Linked DNA regions of Homo sapiens: region 1 is linked to region 2. Evidence: promoter capture Hi-C in 16 types of primary human blood cells and fetal thymus (Javierre and others, 2016). All regions are on one chromosome and are shown on one strand. Each heading gives the region's core, a stretch centred on a gene start or on the middle of the fragment in contact. The rest is flanking DNA. Distances are from core to core; before and after follow the strand shown.

Evidence for each region. Contacts are between HindIII fragments. The CHiCAGO score rates a contact against its expected background, and 5 or more counts as called.
Region 1: a contact is called between a fragment that was not itself captured here and the fragment with the promoter of MAN2B2 in region 2, in 1 of 17 cell types (naive CD4 T cells). The highest score is 5.5, in naive CD4 T cells.

Annotation. Positions count from the first base shown.
Region 1 is chr4:6,872,308-6,878,154 of GRCh38, forward strand. It overlaps KIAA0232, which reads left to right. Exons shown (of 10, transcript NM_014743.3): 9 at 4,353-4,450. Among named protein-coding and RNA genes, the nearest start is that of TBC1D14, 35 kb to the right of the region's middle. RefSeq lists a silencer at 1,752-1,911. The HindIII fragment of the contact is 3,243 bases long and covers 818-4,060 here.
Region 2 is chr4:6,570,911-6,577,374 of GRCh38, forward strand. MAN2B2 (mannosidase alpha class 2B member 2) reads left to right here and starts at 4,279. Exons shown (of 19, transcript NM_015274.3): 1 at 4,279-4,438; 2 at 5,668-5,814. The coding sequence starts at 4,301. It overlaps LOC105374365 (a long non-coding RNA gene), which reads left to right. Exons shown (of 3, transcript XR_925098.3): 2 at 2,599-2,697; 3 at 3,281-3,428. RefSeq lists enhancers at 2,475-3,243, 3,244-4,011, 4,012-4,780 and a silencer at 4,069-4,528. The HindIII fragment of the contact is 10,372 bases long and covers 3,359-6,464 here.

The DNA.
Region 1 (5,847 bases), core at 1,189-3,688, 300 kb after region 2:
AGGCAATCAAAGCGGGGACAGAGAAAAGGAAACAGGACCGAGAGGTTTTGTAGAGGAGGAGTTTGTTGGATTACTTTCTATGAGGAGTAGTTATGGGAGTCTAGGTAGAGAGGGAGACAGGAGTGGGCGCTGATGCGGTGAGGAAGATTTTAGTTTAGGGTATTTTTTGAATGAGCAGTCTGTGAGGCCTTCCAGGTAGACACCCAGAAGTTGTTAAGAAACCCTGAATTGAAATTTTGGGAGAAGTAGGAACTAAGGATGCAACCAGAATTGATTAGCTCAAGAAGTTCAGCTTGTCCAGATTGTGGTCTCCTGGGCTTCTATTGGCTACCACATTTATTTAACACCAGTCTCCTGTCAGAGTCCCGAAGGGGTTATGCAAATCTCTTGCATTTAAATTTACGGGTTCACGTGTTTGTCACATCCCCTCAGCTAATTTGTAGTTAGTGTGGAGCCAAGTGACTTCTCTCTCACTAGCCACGATGCCCTGCACACGCCTGTGTTGTCCTCGGAAAGCCTCCCTGGCATCCCTCGGCAGCATGGGCTATAGCTGATGGGATGGAAGGCCAGCTTGGCCAGGTTGACTCTTTAGGAGTGGAGCGTTTGCTGTTCTCTGGTCTGTAGCCACAGACAGCTTCCCAGGACCCTGCCTTCCTCCTTCCCAGAGGTTCATCTGGGTCATAAGGAGAGCGTAGAGCTGAGTCTTCACTGTTAGCGTCTTCGTTGATTGAACAGCGTTTATTGAAGGCCCGTTGCTGCTGCCGCCCTACCATTAGCTCATATCTGGACAGCCTTGGTTGCGTGCAAGGTGCTCTCAAGCTTTTCTTTTACATAATTCCCACAAGAACCTTAGGAGATGCCCCCCGCTAGTTTTCAGATGAGGAAGCTGAGTCTCAAGTTTAGTACTGTAATTTGCCCGAAATCACACAGTTAACTATTAAGCATGGGCTAGAATGTAGGTTGTGATTCTTGTGGTCCAGAAGTTTTGCCCTCTACAGCAGCTGCCTGCACTTGGTACCAAGGTAGATGCCAGGGCAGTAGGAGTAGGACACACAGAGCTTCCCTTCATGTGTGTCCAGTCTGGTAAACTGGGCAAGTACAAGACACAGACACAGTTAATGGAATGAAGGTGGGATGTGGCCACAGCTGTGCCACAGAGGACCTCTCAGGAAGAGCTAGGAGGGAGAGGAGGATGCCACCTTGTGGAAAAGAACCAATTCCTTGCAGTGGCATAGGATGATTTTGAGACACAGAGTTCATGTTTCTTTAGTAAAGGGCAACCTTAGCACCCTTAGTCCAGTTTTCTGTCATTAGTTAGTAAAGAATCCAGTTTCACCTCTTAGCTCTAGGTTCCTGGTTATCTGTACAGTCTCTTAGTGGATACTGGTGTTTGTACATAATATTTTTGTTTTTACAGTGAAGTGGTATATAGAGAAACTCTCAGTGCATAAATACTGGTAATTATTTCTTTTGAATGACCTTTAGCTCACACTGTGAGTTAAGTCCCTGCATATTTGCCCTGTAGCATCATGAAGCATCCTTCTTTAGCTTATGTGGGTTGGGGCATTTAGTCTCAGAAGGATAGCCAAGAAAACAGGTAGTCACTTACCTACTCAGCAGAAGTGGCTGGGGACTCCTAATGCTTCTAATATTGGATATGATTCATCACAAGCAGTTGCTGCTCTGAGCCAGGGGCTGACCTGGGAGCTCACAGCATCTCTGGAAAGGAAGAGTAGCATTGTCCCCTTTACAGTAAGGCGAGGAAACAGGCTCAGAAAAGAGGCAGCTTGTTCAGGTAACCATATAAGAAAGCCCCAGCTTTGTGCAGTCTGCCCCCTGCTGGCCTTGCTGCGCATTCATATGTGCATCCCTTCAGCACTTGGGTTAGGCACTGTTCTAGACTTGGGAATGCATAGGCAAACAGATCGTGTCCCTGTCCTCCCCCTGCTCAGGTACCTTCTCAACAGGGACTTGAGGAAATAGGGCACAGACCATGTGACAGCTGGGGCTGCCTGCAGGGAGAGGTGCCAGGCAGCAGTGGCTTGTGCAGGGACAGGAATGCATTGGGTATGCCCCCAACATGACTGGCAAAGAAGGGATGGCATGGGAGTGTGGTGGGGATGAGGCCAGCCAGGCAGCTGGGAGCCAGACCACAGAGGGCCTTGTAGACTCTGTGCACCAGGAGTGCCGTCCCAAACAGCAGTCTCCACAGCTCACGCCCCTGGATTTTCAGTGCTTTCAAGACTCGAGTAATGTAAGCGTCTGGATGATTTTAGCATTAAAGACAGAGAGTCCTGCAGGGAAGCAGTACAGACAGGTGGTGAAAGGCCCAGGATTGAGAACTGTATTGGAATCCAGAGCTTCTTTCCCCAGCTATTAGGCTTTGGGTGCTGACTGAGCCTTTCTGTGCCTCTGTAGTCTGTATGTATAAAAGGAGGCTAGAAGAATGCCCTCATTGTAAGGTAAAGTGCCTAGAACAGTGGCTGGCATGTCATAGCCCGAAACAGGGTGGTGGTCAACTTGAGCATCATGAAGACTATCAGCAGCAGTTCAGCATCACCTTTTCCAAATACCCTGTGGCACAATAAAACCCTCTTGTATGTACAGAATTCCTAAAGCAGGAAGAGAAAATGAAGGAGTGGGGTGTGGAGATGGGCCTGCCTGCCTCTGAGCTATCCTTGTCAAGGAAACCATGTCCTATCCACTCCATGCCCCTCAGCCAGTATAAGTGGTGGCCATATGGAGTGGGCCATGGAGTGAGAAGTCAGCCAAGGAAAAGATGCCTCCTTAGGAGAGATGAAGCCAGGGTTCCTCCCAGCCTCAGCAGAGGACACATGGCATCCTCCCCAGCCGCCCTAGGGCAACCACGCCTCCAAGCCTATGGCTTTGATAAGCAGCGGTCATGGGTGCAATGTGTGTGCCCGGCACTGTGCTTGAGGCTTCACCTCTTTGAATTTGCACAGAAATGTAGGAGGGAAAATGGTGATGTTCTCATCTTAGAGATGAGGATACTAGGGCTCAAAGAGGTTAAATAATTTGTGCAAAGTTACATCACAAGTAAATAGCATGACCTGGAATTGACTGAAGTCTGTCTAATCCCAGAGCCTGGGGTATTCTCATGAACCTCAACTAGTAACTTGGAGTTCTTGGAGCCGTCAGAGAGAACAGCTGTGGAGAGTCTTCCATGTGGCCAGTGCAGCTGCAGGAAGCAGCCCAGCAGGGCCCAGATGGTCTTACCCTTGGCACAGCCTCGCTACTCTGTGCCAAGGTAGAAGGGCGCAGCAGTCACTTGCTCCAGCCTTGTCCTTTGGGGTGTTGTGCAAGGGGCAGGCATGTCATCTCGTCAAACTACCTTGTGGCAACTCTGTGGCAGGGGATGGGGGGTGTGATCTGGTTTTGAGGAAGTAGATGCTCAAGGGTGTTAAAGGACTTAATGCACCATGAATGTCAATGCCAGAGTCCAAAACCCTGGCCAAGTTCCTCCTTTTACTCTGCACTGTGCCTCTGCCCCAGCTATGTTTCTCATGGAGGTAAGGGGAGTAAGAGGCTGTTCTGGATGAAGACCAGCAGTTCTCAGTGCATTAGAATTGCCTGGGAGCAAATCTGCTTTTCAGAAAGTGCCCAGCCCCTGCCCAGGACAGTTCATTTGGAATCTCTGGCAGGAGTCTAAGCCTCTCTAAAGCCCCCAGATGATGAGAATATGCAGCCAGGGTTGAGAACTACTGGGCTCGTTGGATTTGTTTGATATCTTCTCATCCCAGTTTTTTTCCCATTTTGTGGGGCCATTTGCCTGATGGAATCGCTAGCACCATTTCTTTTTCCTATTCATAGATGTGATACATGGTTCAGTATGTTGTTGAGGAAGAACACACAAGGACGTGACCCTGTGTCGTTTCTCCATTGCGTTCCCTTCTGTCTGAGCTTCCTTTGTTCCTCTGTCCTATGAACGTGCTATGATGCACCATCTGTCTCCTCCATCCATTTGTTGTGGAGAGCATGGGCCCTGTGGGTCTCTCTGTCGTGTGTTCCCAGGGCCGATCACATTACAGGTGTGAATAGAAGCTTGTCCAATGAGTGCCTCCTGGTAGAATAACAGGAGTGTATGGTTATGCTGGCCTATTTCTTTTTTTAACTCACCAAACCAAGAATTTTTTGTCAGCATAGCGTTTTTTTTCTCTTACACACCTGCCTGGCTGTGCTTTTAGTGACGACTTAAAACCTCCGAAGGGTTGGGAGACCTAACTGATGTAGCTTTTTAGTGAAAAATGAAACAAGAATGTATGTTTCATAACTGTGTCTTAATGGAATTTCCCCCTTTCCCTCTTTTCCCTTCTCCATTCCAAATGATTAAGAATGTTACACAAATGCCAAGGGAGAGAGTGGTTTAGAAGAATATCCAGATGCTAAAGAGACACCCAGTAATGAAGAGCGCCTGTTAGATTTTAATAGGGTAAGTGGACTGTCCTCCTCCTCGTCATTAACTTACAAACAGCCACCACCTCCAGTTGTCACTGTAGTCAAAAACCTGGGAGTCATGTGAGTGGACCCCACCTCTCCCAGGAACCAGCCAGGCCTGTGGGTGCAGACTTCCTGTTCTCTGGCCTTTGTTCTGAGTCTGCATTCTCCCCCGCTTCCAAACCCCCTTGACTGTTGACTGCCAGTGCTTCCTGAAGAATCCCCAGCTCTCTCCCCAGTCTTGGCTCTACACTACTGCCCGAGGGCATTGCATTACAAATGCAGAGCTGACCCTGTTGCTCCTTGGGTGGGCACACTTTTCATCTTTTTTTTTTTTGTTTACCTAATAAGTGGGAGACCTAGCCTTGTCCTCTTTGAAAGTGCACCCTGAGGCAGCCTTGCCAGTGTGCTTGTTGCCGCTGTCCCGGCTTCTGCAGAACGATCCCGCCCTTTCCGTGTCCTCCTGCACTCTGTGCACGACTCTTCTTGCTGTAGCCAGAGCATGTACTTGCGTTCCGTTTCTGCATGTCTGCCTCTTCCACAAGCCTGTGGGCACCACGAAGGCGGGAGCGGGGCCTCCGCCTGGTTTAGTCTCGTCTTAGACCTTCCCCGGTTAAGAGGCAGGCAGGCAAATGAACCTAAGGAAAATTCTTTTTATTTGGTGTGAATTGTCAGTGTATTAGGGTTCTCCAGAGGGACAGAACTAATGGAATAGGTATATATATACACAAAGGGGAGTTTATTAAGTATTAACTCACACGATCACAAGGTCCCACAATAGGCCATCTGCAAGCTGAGGAGGAAGGAGAGCCAGTCCCAGTCCCAGTCCCAAAACTGAAGAACTTGGAGTCCGATGTTCGAGGGCAGGAAGCATCCAGCATGGGAGAAGATGTAGGCTGGGAGGCTAGGCCAGTCTAGTCTTTTCACATTTTTCTGCCTGCTTTATATTCTAGCCACGCTGGCAGCTGACTAGATGGTGCCCACCCAGATGAAGGGTGGGTCTGCCTTTCCCAGCCCACTGGATCAAATGTTAATCTCCTTTGGCAACACCCCCACAGACACACCCAGGATCAGTACTTTGCATCCTTTAATCCAATCAAGTTGACACTCAGTATTAACCATAACAAGTCCACCCCTTGTCAATTTGAACCCATACACATCTCCTGAAATTATATGTAATCTTCAAATAAAGACAATAAGGTCATAATTATACCTAACATAATACAGCTATGCTTCATACAACCGGAAAAGCACCAATCCCAAACCCAAGTACTATTACATAGAGTTAACAATACTTAAATGCTGATATGAAGTCAATAAATCTTATGTCAGCCGGGCGCTGTGGCTCACGCTTGTAATCCCATCATTTTGGAAGGCCAAGGTGGGCAGATC
Region 2 (6,464 bases), core at 3,029-5,528:
TTATGTGCTGTACAACCCAGAGGCTGCTGGCTGATGGGGAAATGGAGTGGCCAGTTGAAGGCTCAGCCACAGCACCAGCTTGGAGGTGCCACCTGTGAAGCAAGGGCACCATCCTCCAGGGTGTATGTACATCCCAAGTCAATGACCAGTACACGATGTCCCCAGTGGGTAAAATACCTGGGCCTAAGAACCAAAGAATGGAAGCAGGAATAGCCTAATTTAGCATCACTCTCAGTGACCTACTTGGAGAATATGTGCTTCCTGTCCACACAACTACAGATTCTGTAGGTTCAGAGGTTCTGGTTTCCAAAGGGGAATGCTTCCACCAAGCGACACCAGTCACGCCAGGCTACTCATGTCAAGACACCAGTAGGCAGGGGAAGAGTCACCCATCGAGCAGGGGCAGTTGACCTGAACCATCAGAGGAGGTAGGGTTGCTGTCACACAATGGAAGCAGAGAAGACTGTGTGCCACCCACATGGGTGTCCCTCAGGACTCTTTCACCTGATGTAGTCAGCAAATAGGCAAGTGAGCAGCTATGGCTCAAGAAGGGAATGGTCACCAGGGGCTCATCCTCGTTGGTGAGGATCTGGGGCAACCCACCAGGTAAGCTATCTAGTCCAGCATGGGTCTAGCTGAGGGTGAAAGGGATCTGAATGAATAATCCAGGAGGGGGTTGTGAGTATCACCTTCAAGCCTGAGACTAGCTGCAGCAAGAGCTCACGCAAGAGCCTTGAGGAAAGTACAAATGAAACCCTACACAGCTGTGATACAGTGGGCAGGAGAGAAAATGACATGAGGTCTCACATGTTGTTGTAGTCAGATGGGGGGCTGGAGCTGAAACAGCATGGTGATCTTGAGCTGCTCCCTGTGGTCTGCCCCATGTGGGCTGGTTGGGCTTCCTCACAGCATGGTGGCCTCAGGGTAGTTGGACTGCTGACAGGGCAACTCAGGCCTCCAGGCACGAGTGCTCCAGTGAACATGGATGTCATGGAAGTCACACAGTACAACTTTCACTACATTCTCTTTGTAACAAGTGTGTCACAAGCCCGCCCATGGGCCAGGCACAGTGGCTTATGCATGTAATCCCAACACTTTCGGAGAATCCCTTGAGGCTAGGAGTTTGAGACCAGCCTGGGCAACATAGAGAGATCTTGTCTACAAAAAAGAAAAGAAAAATTAGTTGGGCATGGTGGCATACACCTATAATTTCAGCACTTTGTGAGATGGTGGTGGGAGGATGCCTCGAGCCCAGGAGTTCAAGATCAGCCTGGGCAACATAACGGGATATTATATCTAAAAAAAAAAGAAAAAAAAAAGTTTTCATTAGCCAGGCATGATGGCACATACCTGTGGTCTCAGCTACTCAGGAGGCTGAAACAGGGGGATCACGTGAGCCTAGGAGTTTGAGGCTGAAGTAAGTTAGGAGTCCACCACTGCACTCTGGCCTGGGCAACAGAGCAAGACTCTATCTCTAAAAAACACAAAAATTAATAAAATAAAAAACAATAAATAAACAAGATTCAATGAGAGGAGACATAGACCCTATCTCCTAATAGGAAGAATGTCAAGATCATATTGTAAATCAAAAATAAAATTATAAGCCCCAGCTGAGAGAATGGACCCCCTGTCGGCCAAGGGGACCCCAAAGAAACCCAAAAAACTAGTTCAGGCCATGATGGGAAGTGGGAGGTCACACATGCCTCATCATAGCCTCCTCCCTTTAAGTTTCGGCACAGCTGACCAGCATTAACATTAACATAGAGATCCTCCTAAGACTGACAGAACACTTTTGTAGCAATCAGATACCCGATTCTAACATGACTCTGGTATAGCAACACACGACAGAGAGCAGGCCCTAAAGGAAATCAAAGTATTTTACCCCAAAATAAATTTTCTTTGACATATTTTGAAATGGACTTGCAAAGTCATCTCTTGTGGGGGAAACTTGCATTCTGTAGAGAATCTCCTTACTTACTAGCTCTTTTCCAGAGAGTCTGATACCTTTTAAGGTCCCCAGAGACATGCACATCTATTCTCTCTGAAGCCTGCTAACTGGAGGCTTCATCTATGTAACAAGAACCTTAGCTTCCACATCCCCATTGTCTTAACTCAAGCATTTCTTTCTGCCGACTCCAACTCTTCAGGTAAAGCTTAACTCTTTTAACCAATTGCCAATCAGGAAATCTTTGAATCCTCCTCTGACCTGGAAGCACCACCCACCCACTTCAAGATGTCCCACCTTTCTGGGCCAAACCAATGTATACTTTACATATATTGATTCATGTCTTTGCCTGTAACTTCTGTCCCCATAAAATGTATAAAGCTATAGCCCAACCACCTTGGGCACCTGTTCTCAGGACCTCCTGAGGCTGTGTCACAGGCCATGGTCACTCCTATTTGGCTTAGAATAAACGTTCTGAGATATTTTAGAGTGTGGCTTTTCTCGTCAACCAAATTCTACAAAGAGCTTGGGGGGTGGGTAATGTTGTGGAGCCCATCTTTGGCAGATACAGTCTGCCAAAGATTGTGACACTGCCTTATCGATAAACTCAGTGGCTTAACACAATTAAAGCTTATTTCTCCCTCTTGTCACAGCTCTTTGGGTTCCTCATGGTTCCATGTGGTTCTTCAGAGCCTCCATTGGTGGCTCTAACCTCCCTGAGGTCCTCGGAGTGCCCTCCACTGGAGCAGTGGGTGAGTAAGAGAGCAGGGCTCACCCACAGGAGGTTGTTAGGGGCCAGCCTGGAAGAGGAGCACAGTGCCCGCCCCCACCCATCCCATTGACTAGCACTTAGCCACGTGGCCGCACCTGGTTGCAGAGGCTGGAGAGTGGAGCCCAGCTGTGAGCCTGGCCGGTCATGGGGACATGTGTTAGTGAGTACTGTCCACGTCAGGCTCAGACCATCTGACCTGAGGCTATGGGGATGCAGGGGTCCCCAGGGGGTGGACAGGACAGAAGGAGGAGGGAGACCTGCTTGGAGAACCTGTTCTCAGTTTCCATTTGTTACATAATGGACAAGAGGACCAGCACTTTTGCTCAGAGCTGCAGCTCTGGTTCCGCTAGGAAATGCCAGGCAGGGGCACAGCCAAGTGGTTCTCAGACAGTAAACCCCAAGCCACAGACCCTTGCTTTCTTGGGCAGGGAGTAGTGGACAGGGCTGACTCCAGGCAACAGTCCCAAACAGGCTGCACCAATGTGACCGCACCTCCCCTGAGTGCAGGCAAGGGGTGCTGTGCTCACGCTCTCAGCCTGGGTGCATCCTTACTTTGTTCACAGCTCCTCTATCGGACCCATTTCACTGAGGCTCAGCGAGGTTACCTATGTCGCCCCAGGTCACCATCCAGTAACCCAGAAAGCTTCTCTTGGCTCCTCCACTAACTGCGTGATCTTGGACAAGTCAGTTACTGTCTCTGAAAGCCAGTTCTCCTCCTTAAAATGGAGACAGTTGAGCCAGGCATGCTGGTTTATGCCTGTAATCCCAGCACTTTGAGAGGCGGAGGCAGGAGGATCGCTTGAGCTCAGGAGTTTGGGACCAGCCTGGGCAACATAGTGAGGCCCCCATCTCTATAAATTTTTTTTTTAATTAGCTGGGTGTGGCAGTGTGCCCCTGTGGTCCCAGCTACTCAGGAGGCTGAGGTGGGAGGATCACTTGGGCCCGGGAGGTCAAGGCTGCAGTGAGCCCTGATCGCGCCACTGCACTCCGGCCTGGGAGACAGAGTGAGATCCTGTCCAAAAAAAAAAAAAGGAGACAGTCCCATAACAAGCCCCCCATGGCGCCGCCCAGATGGGGTTTCGACGCCAGGGAGAGGAGGGAAAGGGTTATCAGGGAAGGTTCCTGGTGGCAGAGCTCACAGGGTCCGTGCTGAGCCGAATTTTGCACGGTAGCCTCAGAGTCCCGGAGCCGAGTCCAGAGGGCGGGATGCAGGTATTGCGAAGAGGCACACGCTCCGAGAGGAACCACCAGAGCGTGGGCTTTGGGCGAGGAGGGGTCTCCTCTGGTTGGGGGAGATCTGGCAGGCTTGGGGGAGATGGGGCTGAAAGGATGGACAGGGAGGGAAGGCCAGAAAGCTGGAGACGGGGATGGAGAGCTAAACCGCAAAGAGCAGGCGCCCTGCCCCGCTGAGGGCCCCGCGCCTCCAGCTCCTCCTTCCCGAGCTTCCCGGGGTCGGCGTCCAGCCGGCAACCAATGGGCCCCGCCCCCGCCCGCAGCCAATGGGCCGCGTCCCCGCCCGCGCGGCCGCCCCGCCCCTCGCGGACCCGGAAGTGGGCCTGGCACCTTCCCGGCCTGCCGCAGGGATGGGGCAGCTGTGCTGGCTGCCGCTGCTGGCACCGCTCCTGTTGCTGCGACCGCCAGGGGTCCAGTCCGCCGGCCCCATCCGGGCCTTCGTGGTGCCCCACAGCCACATGGACGTGGGCTGGGTCTACACTGTGCAGGTAGGTGCCGACCACGCCCCGCGCGCCCCTGAGGCTGCAGCTTCCCTCTCCCCGCGGGATCTGAGTGTGGGTTTGCGTCCCGGGGCCCGATGCCGGCGCAGAAGGAGGCTCAGTGGGTTCAGGACCCCACGCTGCCATTGACTGGTTGCGTCGCTAACTTCGGGCCAGTCACTTCCTGCCTCTGAACCCCCATTTCCCCTTCTGGAGGGTGGTGCAGATTGGAGGGACCCCTGCATTCCCGGCTGGGGAGGGGCTTGGGGGTTGACAGTGGTAACCCATTTTCCAGGGAAGCCTGGAGCAGGAGAGGGTGGGGCTGGCTTCAGAGCAGGTGGATGTCAGGTGCCCGCTGGGAAGGGGCCGGGCTGGTCCCCTGCGGGGCTGAATATTGGAGGCCAGCTCAGCGTCCTCCGCCCCCCAGGACAGGGGTGAAGGTGGACCTGTGGTCACCTCCTGGTTCTGCTCAGGACCTTGGGCGAGGGGCTTTGGTCCCTAAGCCTCAGTTTCCCCATCTGTAAAGGGTAGGGGAAGCATGCCCACTACAGCCAGTTTCCAGAGGAGAAAACCGAGGCCCAGAGAGGGTTGCTGCCTTGCCCAAGGTCGCTCGGGAATAACCCTCATGCCTCCTGACTCCCTGCTCGGTGCTCCTTCCATTCATGTAAGCACTCTGTGGGCACCCTGTGTGCAGGGCCCTCGGGACTCGGATGGGAACACACTACAGCTGTGGTCCTTGGAGCTCCCAGCCTTGGGGAGGCAGACGCCTAGACGCCAGGGACAGCCTGGGGAGCTCTTCCTCTCAGCACCAGCTTTCCTCATTTCAGCCCCAGCAGGCCCCTTTGGGGTCACTGGACCACACCCCGACTGAGGCCTAAGACTTTCCTGTGCTGCCCCTCAATGGCACACTCAGGGCCCAGCCCCCCAAATTGCACACTCAAGGCCCAGCTTGCTCACCCCTCTGAGAAACTGTCCCTGACCCCTGGGCTGGGAGGGCACCTGTCTCTGCCCATGTAGGGTGTCTGTTTCCCCGTCCCTCTCCCCCAGGAGAGCACGATCCCATCCAGTGGGGAGAGCCTGGTATGGAGCGAGTGCCTAATAGCTGTGTGGGGGGTGAGCAGCAGGGAAGGAAGGGCAGAGCCCCCAACCCCATGCAGACACACCTGGCGAATGGCAGGGGCCCCAGGGACACTTGGTCTTGTTGGACCGGGGCTGGCATGATGCTGTCCCCTCCCCAGGAAAGCATGCGGGCGTACGCCGCCAATGTCTACACCTCAGTGGTGGAAGAGCTGGCCCGCGGCCAGCAGCGCCGGTTCATCGCTGTGGAGCAGGAGTTTTTCCGGCTGTGGTGGGATGGCGTCGCCTCGGACCAGCAGAAATACCAGGTAATGAGGTCACCAGGTGACACAGTTGGCCCAGTATCCTGGCAAAGACCCAGGTGGAAAACTCAATGGGGCAGTTCTAGCCAGGGCCAGGGCCAGGCTGGCATAAACCACAGGGCCAAAACCCCACCGGGCTATTCACAGCCTTGTTTAGATCAAGGTTCACGGTGAGTTCCATGCCTGGGAGAGATTGCTTTCAATTTAATCCTGAATTTCTGTCTATTCTTGAAAAAACTGCCAGCTCTGGCAACCCAGCTGTGCACTTCCGTGCCAGCTGGCACTAAGTCAGCAGTGCCCCCTGACACCAGGCATCCCAGGTGTCCCCAAGCCCTCACCCTCTTCTCTCATTTGTGTTATCTGCCTGGCCCCCGGGCCCAGGGTCTGGTGACCCTTGATGAGGGTGCGATAGTCCCTGTGGTTTGAGGGTAGGCAGCAGGTTGCTTCATACAGCATGGAGAGTCAGAGTCCCCGCTGCACAGTGAGGCAGCCTGGGTCCCATCCTGCTCCCGCACCAGGGGACACGACTAGCCCCTGCGAGCCACAGATTCCACTTCTATTAAACGGGGGTGACCGCCCCATTGCAGAAAAGTCATGCCAAGAATGAAGCCCTGGCGTGAGCACCCAGGACGATACTCGGGGGTTCTTAGTTTCCT